Linked DNA regions of Homo sapiens: regions 2, 3 and 4 are each linked to region 1. Evidence: promoter capture Hi-C in human tissues and cell types (Jung and others, 2019). All regions are on one chromosome and are shown on one strand. The core of a region is centred on a gene start or on the middle of the fragment in contact, and the rest is flanking DNA. Distances in the headings are between cores, read along the strand shown. Region 1 holds the start of OR6B2 (olfactory receptor family 6 subfamily B member 2). Region 2 has its middle 14 kb from the start of GPC1. Region 3 has its middle 76 kb from the start of GPC1. Region 4 has its middle 100 kb from the start of GPC1.

Region 1 (2,598 bases), core at 42-2,541:
TGAACATAACAGGGCACATACTTTATGTGTAAGCCCCTCAGAAACACCAATGCTAGCATCTGGTTTTGGAAGTCAGGACAGTGCTTTTTGTGGAGAAGGGTTAATGACTGGGAGAGGGCGTGAAGGCAGCTTCTAGTTCTTGATCTGGGAGCTGGTTCCATGAGCACAGTCCTTTTGTGAAAACATATGCAGACGAAGGCTTGTTACTTGTGCACAGTTGTGTAGGTTTGTTAAATTTCACTTAGTTCTGTAGGTTTGTTAAATTTAACTTAAAAATTAATTTAAAGAGCACAAAGTGCCACATACAATGTTGTTTCATCACTACAGATTTTACTCTAGGACATTTAGTTGTCTTAGTGTGAAGTTTGACCCAAGCCCAAGGCCTTTTTCAAGGCGTCCTTAAATTCCTTGTTCCTCAGGCAGTAAATCAAAGGGTTAATTATTGGCGTGACAACAGTGTACACGGCAGAGATGAGCTTGTTGGAGCTCTGGGAATCAATGGCTTGGGGCCGGACATACATGAAAAGCAAGGCTGTATAGAAGACGGTGACCACGGTGAGGTGAGAGGCGCAGGTAGAGAAGGCTCTCCAGCAGCCGGTGGCCGAGGGGATGCGCAGGACAGCCAGGGTGATGTGCCAATATGACAGTATGGTGGCCAGGAGCGGAAACACCAGGATGATGAAGGCCAGGATGAAATCCACCAGCTCTGCAGTGGAGAAGTCCGTGCAGGCCAGCTTGAGGATGGGGGAAATGTCACAGAAGAAGTGGTTCAAGACGTTGGAGCCACAGAACGTGACGCTGGAGATAAAACAGACCTTGATCATGGAGATGGTGAAGCCACTCACAAAGGAGAAGCCCACCAGCTGGAGGCACAGCCCCGGGGTCACAAGGACGTGGTAGCGCAGCGGGTGGCAGATGGCCACGTAGCGGTCGTAGGCCATGGAGGCCAGAAGCACACACTCGGTGCACACCAGGGAGCTGAAGAAGTAGAGCTGCGTCATGCACCCGACGAAAGAGATGCGTTTCTGCTGGAGGAGGAAGCCCTCCAGCATCTTGGGGGTGATGTCAGACACGTACCAGATCTCCAGGAAAGACATGGAGCTCAGAAAGTAGTACATGGGCCTGTGGAGGGAGGTGCTGCTCCAGACGATGAGGATGATGGCCAGGTTCTCCACCAGGACAAAGAGGTAGGTGAGCAGGAAGAGGAGGAAGAGCAGGTACTGCAGCCCTGGGGCCGTGGGGAGGCCCACCAGGATGAAGGTGCTGACCTTGGTGACATTCTCCCCACTCATGCCTCTGTGCTTGGGAGCTGCAGGCCTACAAAACATCAAAGAGCAAGAGGAAAGGGCTGCAGGGCAGCTGAGGCAGAGAGAGAGTGGAGCTGGACTTGGATGGGGAGTTTTGGTGCAAAGAGAGGCCACGTGGCTCCCCAGAGCACCAGGAGAGAGCAGTGATCTGCTGATCTTCTGAGTTTTAAAGTAGAAAACTTCTGTGTGCTTGCATTTACATATAACCATGAAGTAGGAATGAGGAAGAGAGTATATGCTGAGGAACAGAGCCGGGCAGCTCCAGGGTGGGCAAAACCCAAAGCTCTGAGTCCAGGGGCACTACCAGTCCACACGTGCCTGGGGCAGCTCTCAAGATCCAAGTGGGCATGGACACAGAGCTGGCCCTCCTTAGGGTCCTTCATCTGAGGGTTCCTGCAAGTCGGGGCAGCAGCCTCGGCATGAGGTGAGGGGCTATCAGCCTACCAGGGCAGAACCCCAAACTGGGCTAACCAGCCGGAGGAATGCAGGGAGGGCTCCCAGGAAAGGGCTGCCTGGCTCTGGGGGACCTGGTCCACAGGTGGGGGAGAGAGAGGGTAGCCACAGCCCCTTGCCCCACAGGGCATCTGGTGGTTCTTTTCATTGGCAGTCTAGGTGGGTTGAATGGCAGACTTCCACCAGCTCACAGCTGGGGAGGGTGACCCCAGGTTTCTGGCCCAGGATGCTAAAAATTGATGAGAAGACTAGGAGAGGGCCAGGTGGGTGCCGAATAATCTGGAGTCTGTGCTGGGGAGGCGTGGTGCGCGGCACTTACTGGAGAGCCTCATGGTGACGTGTAGGGGGTTGGCTAGACAAGTCGAGTTCATGGAAGAGTTGCAGGCTGAAAAACAAACTTCTAGAAGGGAATTGCCCAGGGACAGGTTTACACTTGGAAACGCACCTGTACTCCTGCCGTCTAGGGTGAGCATTCTGTGGGAACCCAAGATCATCCACTGGGGCGGCATGGCCATTCCCTGCCTTAAAATGCCAGCGTGCAGTTCAGAGTTTAGGATCAATTTCACAAGCATTTACTACTCACTCCAGTCACCGCCTACTGTCTCCCCAAAACAAAAGCAATAAGAACCCCTGCCATTAAAGGGGTCTCAAGATGTGAGTCTGAATGTAGCCTCTCTAGACACCATCCAGGGTGGTGACTGTGTCCTCTTCCCAGCTGAGTGGCCACAGGGGGCTTTAAAGTCCACAAGGAGGAAAGTTGGGGTCCACAGGAGCTCCTTGGAAGGCCAGCAGCCCCCACCTGTTGACTGGGTTTGCTGGGGAGAGCTGGCGGTGGGGG
Region 2 (2,598 bases), core at 57-2,556, 390 kb after region 1:
GCCCGTGGAGACCCCCAGCTCCCAGACCATTAAGGCCAGTATCTGAGAGCCATAGCCAGGCCAAGCCCCAGCTGGTGGCAGAGGAGCCGGGCAGCCTGCAAGGGGCTCCTGGTCCCAAGGAAGCTTGATGGGGGGGCCATGGACTGAACCCTGCCCCCACCCCACAAGTCCGTTTCAGAGACTGCACACTGCTCAGGCACCCAGAAGACCCTTTCCTGACCCCCTCAGTGGGCCAGGGGCAGACATAGGCAAGCAGACACCACCCACAGTGCCCGAAGGCTCAGCACCCTTGGCACACATTGGGAGGGTCTGGTCCACTTCAGAGTGGGGGGCTGGGGGCATGGAGAAGACCTAGAAAGGCACGGCTGATACTTTGGCCCGAGGCTTGCCTTATGGGAGTACCCGGGAGAATGGGAGGGCTGAGGGATGAAGAATGGAAGGACGACCTCCTGGGCAAGCAAACGGCCCCAAAACCAGAGTTGTGGGCAAGTCCTAGGCTGTGGGACCCCAGAGGGACCGGGAATCTGGTCTGGGCCCTCAGGATAGGCAGGCAGGGTCCTGGGGCTGCTGCCCACTATCCTATCCCCTCAGCACAAATGGCCTGGCTCCTCCGGTTCCTCTGGTGTGCGTGCCCCGACATTAGGGGCTTCCTCGGCCCACAGGGAAGGACAGTCAGGTCCTCACAGGGCCCCACGCCCTCTGCAGATGGGAACCACCCCCACAGTAGCCACTCAGCCACATGCCCATGTGGAATGACAAGGCCATCAATCCTGTTCCCCAGGGCTGGAAGCCACGTGTTGACAATTTTGAGCAGTGGGTTTAGCTCGGTTTCGGAAAGGATAAGAAAATTAGAGGATGGGTGTCTTTGCTTCCAAGAGTGTCCCATTCTGCGGATCTGCCCAGGAACACAGCAGTGGTGCCAGAGGCCTGCCAGGGACACTAGGCCCACAAAAGGCCCAAACTAGCATCCAGGCCTCATGTGAGGTGGCAGCCTCCACCCCAAAACCCCCAGCCCTCAGGCAGCACTCACTTGTGCATTTCCAGCTCAATCTTCCAAATTACCAACTTTAAAGAGATATTGCAGGAGGAACACCCAGGACCCTGGAAGGCAGCTGCTGGGCCTGGATGCAGAGAGTGGTGATTCCTCCCAACTGGGATGCACAAGACCAGGATGCCCCAGGGTCAGGGAGGAAGCCAGCTTTACAAGTATGCTTTTCATGACATAACTCACGGGTGTGGGTGCCTTCTCCCCAAGCAGATGAAGGGTGTAGAATCCCATCAGAAGCACCCCTGTCCATTTCCAGGTCCCCCTGGACAGGTGTGGCCAGCAGGCAGGAAGGCACAGTCAGCAAGCACAAGCAACACTGATGCGGGGACACTGAGCAGGCTACAAGGATCCCAGAGGGGGGATGGAGCAGGCCCTGGCTCCCCAGGGCCCATGCCAGGCCATGGGACATGCAGCCCCAGGAGAAGCTGGCCAGGGCAACCCAGGCCTGACAAGTGTCCTCGTGCCACACAGGCCAGGAAAGCCACTGCTCACGCCTCATCAGAACAGCAGCCAGTGCAAGGCAGAGACAGCATCACCTGTGCTCTGGCCTTGCTGCCACAGGAGTGCTCTGAGCCCAAGGAGACCCCCACAGCAGGAGAGCCCTGCAAGACCATGGAAACAGACAGGGCTTAGGGCCCAGCCTCAACAAATCACATCCAGGATGGCATTGCAAATGCTTCCATTGCAGGTAGGGTTTAGTCCTGGAATGCAAGGATGGGTTAATAGCAGTAATTCTAGATGCATAACTCACTACACCAAGAACTGAGTTGAGGAAAATGATACGATCATGGAAACAGATGTTGAAAAAATTCCATATCCTTCCCTACTAGGACTTTAAAAAGAAACCTTGTAGCAAGGAAAGAATAGGAAACAACTTCCCCAACTTGATAACAGTTTGTTCTAGAAGCCTTTAGTCAATATTGTAATTAATGATAAAACTTTCAAAGCATTAGTCTTAAGGTCAGGAGAAAACATGAGTGTTTTCATCATTACCAATTTTATCTTTACTATTATACTAGAGATCCTAATAAGGATAGTAATGCATTTATTAAAAAAAGAAATGAAAGGCATAAATACCTGGAAATTAAAAGATTAAGTCATCACTACTTTCAGATGCTATGATTGTCTACCTAGAAATCAGAAGGCAGCCAACTGAAAAAGTATTAGAAGTAAGGAAACAATTTAGCAAAGCTGTGACTTGAAAGATCAATGGAGCCAATGACTTCCCTAAACACAGCAATTACCAATGAAAACGTATGCTCAGAAATACTGCTCACAATAGACAAAGCCTTAAAACAACTAAGAATAAACCCCAAAATATAAAAAGGGCTAGATGATGAAAAACGTGAGACTTTACTGCAAAGCAATTTTTTAAATTGAATAAAGGGAGAATTTGAAATACCTAGAATACCTGGATGTCTGAGAAAATATCAATTCTCCCAGAACTAATCTATGAGCTCCAGACAATTCTCATCCATTATTTATGGATCTTGACGGATGAATCCAATGTTCATCTGGGGGAGACACTGGAAAGAATAGCAAGAAATTTT
Region 3 (2,598 bases), core at 26-2,525, 330 kb after region 1:
CTCCAGCGCCCCAGGGGCCAGGCCCAGGCAGGGAACACACCTGCTGCTTCATGAAGCATGGAGGACATGGGGAACCAGCATGGGGCTGGACCCTGCAGGGGCTTCAAGGTCCTGAATTGCCAGCCAGCTCCCACAGGCTCACAAAGGGGCCGGCACTGATAAGCACCTAGGGGAGGAGCTGGCGGAGAGGTGGGCTGGGCCCCTCAGCAGGGCTGGCTTCACCCCCACAGAGCTCCCACGAGGATCCCTCGCCATCCCCTCCTCACCAGGCTCCAGCCCTGCCTAGACGGAGCCTCCCTGTCCCTCCCTAGTCCTGAACACCCTTACCCACTTCTTCAGCTCCGGATAACTCAGCAGCCAACGTCTCTAGGAAGCCCTTCTAAGCCTCCCAAGGAGGGCCGGGGTCATCTGGGGCTGGCGCAGGAGAACGGAGACGGGACTGGACCGGGTTTGGGCAGGGTGAGGAGGAGCTGGAGGAGAGGGCCACAGGTGGTCCTGGGGTCCTCTGGGGTGGTGGCTGGTTGGATCGATTTGAGCTGTGGGGACCTCACATTAGGCATTAGGGAAAGAGAAATGCGTGTGATCTGGGCAATGACCCCCGACCCCTCGGGAAGGTTCCAGGCAGCTGCTGCTCTCCTGAGACTCCACTGACGCAGCTCAGCCTCTTCACTCCCTACTCAGCTCACCCTCAGAAGCCTCCGCTGCCTGCTGGGCATGCAGACCCCTCCTCAGCCCCTCCGGGACCCTCCCCACACCACACCCTGAGTAGGATGGGGTCGTGAACGGCCCCAGCACCAGGAGCGACCCACACCCCTGCAGAGTCCAGCAGCCACTCGGCCGCCTCTTCCTGGTTCTCTTGGTGGTGCACCCAGTAGGAGGGTGAGAGGGTGGGGGTTTGGCTGACAGATTCATGAGCGACAAGGGGATCACCTGAAGTACACCCCACCCACTGCATGCCGCCCTCATGCCACCAGGCCCAGACAAGCCCAGGGACACTCCTGCTCCTCACCCTCAAGGGAGAGGCTCTCCCCCTGGCCCTGAGCAGGGGTGGCGCCCAGATCCTGGCACCCAAGAGTTCTTTGGTTCCCCCAATGGAGGGATGCTTCCTCAGGCAGGGCTGACGCCCTTGGATAGGGCTGACCCCTTAGGGTGGAGCTGAACCCCTAGGGCAGGGCTGAGCCTCCTTGAGCAGCGATGAACCCCTAGGGTAGGGCTGACTCCCTTGGATTGGTTGATGGGCCTCAGTGCCTGCTCTCCCCTCAAACCAACCCCCACCCATCTTTCTCTCATTACCAAATCCAAGGGTGGGGTGGGGCAGGGAGAGCCCTAGGCTCAAGACAGTGGGTCTCAGGGGACTGAGGATCAGAAACAGAGAAATTCACACCCACCAGCCACCTGCCCTCCCCTCCGGGCCTGGCACAAGGGACAGGGACGTGGGTCCCTGGCGGGACAAGGAGGTGTCCCCTGCCCTCCCCTCTGGGCCTGGCAGAGGGGACAGTGAGGTGGGTCCCTGATGGGACAAGGAGGTGTCCCTGCCCTCCCCTCTGGGCCTGGCAGAGGGGACAGGGACGTGGGTCCCTGGTGGGACAAGGAGGTGTCCACCTGCTCTCTCCTCTGGGCCTGGCACAGGGGAACAGGGATGTGGGCCCCTGATGCAACAAGGAGGAGTCCTGGAGTGGCCAGGGCCACACTCCCTGTTTGGGGGTCCTGCAGTGAAGTGGGTTCCAGGGCAGTGCTGCCCCTGCCTTTGACACACTCCAGGCTGTCCCAGGAGCCTGGGTGCCCTTGAGACCTGGTATGAAGGGTCCCATGGAGAGCCCTGGATCTGTCACACAGGACAAGCGGGAGCCCAATCAGAGGCTGGGAGCACCCCTCCAGGAGAAGGCTTGGGCAGGGGTCTTCGGCATCTGCTGAGGGCCCTGAGTGTTCACAGGCTTCTCAACCACACAAGGAGCAGAGGGATGGGGCTGCTCATTCTTTTACATTCTGATTAGAAAGCACGTAGTAGCCCACAGAGTGGCTGATGAAATGCTGGTTCCCCCTTAAACACGTATTGATTTCTGAAACTGTATGTGAGGTCCAGGGACCTAGGCCAAGGGTATCTAAAAGGGGCAGTGAACCACTTCATGCTACTTAGAGATGAATCCTCTCTAGATAGCATGAGGCAGCATCAGGAGGAGCTGGCATCCTCCACCACCCCACTTTGGACAGATTTTTCTAAGCCACCAGAACTTGAGACTAAAGACCTAGGCTCAAACCCTCAAAGGAAAGATCTCAATCTCTTTACAGTATCTCAGGGATGAGGAGAGGACCCAGCAGGCTCTCAGTCAAACCCCAGAGAGACATGCTTAAGAAACAGGGAAGGACAGAGGCAGACTGAGTCTCATCAAAGACACCACTTGACTGGGACTCAGCTCCATTCCCAGCTAGGTTTATATGATAATCCTCTCACCCTATTCCCCTCACAGGAAAACACAAAAGATGATGCCATCTAGAGTCTCTATAATTCCTTTATACAGAGAGTTTGGCATAAAGGAGGTAAAGAAGCAGGAAAATGCAAACAATGATCTAGAAGAAAAAGGTCAATAGAAGTAGACC
Region 4 (2,598 bases), core at 48-2,547, 300 kb after region 1:
TTCTGCTGGAGGGAACGTCCCCTAGGGCACACGGGTGTGGGCAGCTTAGGCTGGGGCTTCTCAGGGCAGGGGCCGCAGAGGGTGGAGGAGGGGCTGGCAGCTGGGGCAGCAGCCCCTGGCCCTGGAGCCAACACATGCAGGCCTCTTCCCAACCCTGTGTTCACCGACCTCACAGGAGATTCCAGTGGGGATAGCAGGATAGATCGTGGAGACTGGAGTACACTAAAATTCCCGCAGCTGCTGCTGTTGCTGTTTCAGGGGCCTGGTTTACAGCACGGCACGGGCAGCAGGCCCAGCCTTGGGCATGGGTAGTACCCTGAGAGCCTGGGGCAGGGACCAATATGGGCTTTAAAGAAGTCAGGGATTCTTGAGGAGGACTTAGTGATGGTTCTCCCAGACCAGCACCAGGGAGGCCAGATGGGGTCAGCATCAAGAGCCCGGCAAAGTCATGGGAGCGTGAACCTAGGCAGGGGAACACTGACAGTGGCCAAGGCCAGGTGGCACCTGCCAGGCAGCCCCCAATATGGCCCCGTGTCTGTCTTCACAGCAACCTGAGAGAAGCATGTCATCCTCGCCTGCAGCTCACAGCTGAGGAGCTGAGATGCGGGAGGGTCAGCAGCCTGCCCAGGGGAGCACACTCAAATATGGCACAGGTGGTCAGCAAGCCATCCAGGGAAAGCTTCTAAAAGCTCTCAGAGAGGATAAAGAGGCCACTCAACAAGAACAAAAACCGGAGTGGCATCAAATGGCTCAGCAGCAACCCTGGACCCAAGAAGACACTGGAATAACACCTGCCAGGTGTGAGTGATTTTCCTGCAGAAAATCGTTTTGAACCTAGAATTCTAACCCAGCCAAACAACAGACATCTCACATGTAGCATCAATAATCCATTCCCCCAAATCAGCCATTCTGCATGAAAATGCTACCTGGGAACCTACTTTCTATTATTTTAAAAGGAATAATTATACTGTATTATATATCAATCTTACTGCCCCCCCTACTTTTCCAAAATGAGATAAAACATGATGGAACCTCTGTATATTAGTAACGAATCATGTTTGAGTATAAAATATAGACAGCCCATCCTAGTCATGAACAATCAGCCTGGCTGTGCACGCATGGCTGCTGTATGGACTGGGATGCTTCTGAACCAGCTGTCTCCAAGTCCCACACCCTTTGCTAATGTGCTGGCATTCTACCTGTTGTATGTGGAATGTAATTCAATCGTTTTACTTAAAATTGCAAATTGCATTTTGAGAATAGTGATGTAACTTTTTCCTGTACACACAAACATCCACTGAAAAACTGATATATTTCAAGACATAAGTTCTACCAACTTGTGATTAAAATCCAAGAGATAGTCACCAGGAAAGCATTAGCCAGGGAGATATCTAGGGGGCATGCCCTACATAGCTAGCAATCAATCAATCAATCAATGAGTAAGGGAAAGTAAATAAAGAATGAAGACATGTTCAGATACACAAAGTCTCAGAGTGTGTTCTTCCCAGGTACTGTTTGAATAAGAAATCATGTGATGATGTAAATATATTAATACATAATTTTTATATTATATCAAAATACAAATATGTAAAAGTTATGCTATATATAAAGCAGCATTTATATAAATTACATCAATAAAGGAAGAACACATTGTTATGTGATTTCTTATTCATCTTTTCTTCTTTCTTTATTGATATAATTTATAGAATGCTATAAAATTCTCTATTTTAAAGTGTGCAGTTCAGTAGCTATTTATGAGATTGTACAATCGTCACCACTAACTCCAGAACATTTTCATCACCCTAAAACAAAATTCCACATCAACAGGTGCTCCCCATGCCTCCTCCCCACCCATCCCCTGACAAACACTAACCTATTTTCTGTCTCTATAGATTTGCCTATGCTGGATATTTCAAATAAATGGAATCATAAAATCTGTGGCCCTTTGTGTCTGGCTTCTTTGACTTAGCATAATTTTTTGGGGGGCTCGTCCGTGTTGTAGCATGATTCAGTGCTTCATTCCTTTCTCTGTTCATCTGCTGGTGGACATTTGGGTTGTTTTCCCTTCGTGGCTCTTAAGAGTAATGCTACTAGAAACATTTGCGTACAAGCTTTTATGTGGACATATGTCTTCAGTTCTCTCTGGTATATTCCTAAGAAAGAAATTGCTGGGTTATATGGTAGTTCCATGTCTGAGGTTTTTAGGAACTACCAGACTGTTTTCCAAAGTGGCTGCACCGTGTTGCATTCCCAGCAGCAATGGATGAGGGTTCCCATTTCTCCACATCTTTGCACCAACAGTTGTTTTCCTTCTTCAATTATAGCCTGCCATTAATTTGCATTTCCCTAATGACTAATGACATTGAACATCTTTTCATGTGCTTATTGGCCATTCATATGTCTTCCTTGGAGAAATGTCTATTCAAATCCTTTGTCCAGTCTTTAATCGGCTTCTGTGTCTTTTTCTTATAGAATTATGAGAGTTCTTTCAATATTCTGGAGACTAGGTCCTTAAGAGACATATGATTGCAAATATTTTCTCTTACTATAGGTTGTCTTTTCACTTTTTCAATAGTGTCCTTTAGCATACAGAAGTTT

The links. The method cuts DNA at HindIII sites, captures the fragments that hold promoters and counts their contacts. A contact is called where the count stands out against the background at its distance.
Region 2: a fragment that was not itself captured here is called in contact with the fragment with the promoter of OR6B2 in region 1 in 1 of the 25 tissues and cell types used here (dorsolateral prefrontal cortex).
Region 3: a fragment that was not itself captured here is called in contact with the fragment with the promoter of OR6B2 in region 1 in 1 of the 25 tissues and cell types used here (mesendoderm cells).
Region 4: a contact is called between a fragment that was not itself captured here and the fragment with the promoter of OR6B2 in region 1, in 1 of the 25 tissues and cell types used here (dorsolateral prefrontal cortex).

Annotation. Positions count from the first base shown.
Region 1 is chr2:240,029,138-240,031,735 of GRCh38, forward strand. It overlaps OR6B2 (olfactory receptor family 6 subfamily B member 2), which reads right to left and starts at 1,292. Exons shown (of 1, transcript NM_001005853.1): 1 at 354-1,292. The coding sequence starts at 1,292. The coding sequence ends at 354. The HindIII fragment of the contact is 5,539 bases long and covers 369-2,598 here.
Region 2 is chr2:240,420,119-240,422,716 of GRCh38, forward strand. No RefSeq gene overlaps it. Among named protein-coding and RNA genes, the nearest start is that of GPC1, 14 kb to the right of the region's middle. The HindIII fragment of the contact is 4,483 bases long and covers 1-2,598 here.
Region 3 is chr2:240,358,176-240,360,773 of GRCh38, forward strand. No RefSeq gene overlaps it. Among named protein-coding and RNA genes, the nearest start is that of GPC1, 76 kb to the right of the region's middle. The HindIII fragment of the contact is 9,023 bases long and covers 1-2,598 here.
Region 4 is chr2:240,329,441-240,332,038 of GRCh38, forward strand. No RefSeq gene overlaps it. Among named protein-coding and RNA genes, the nearest start is that of GPC1, 100 kb to the right of the region's middle. The HindIII fragment of the contact is 5,119 bases long and covers 1-2,598 here.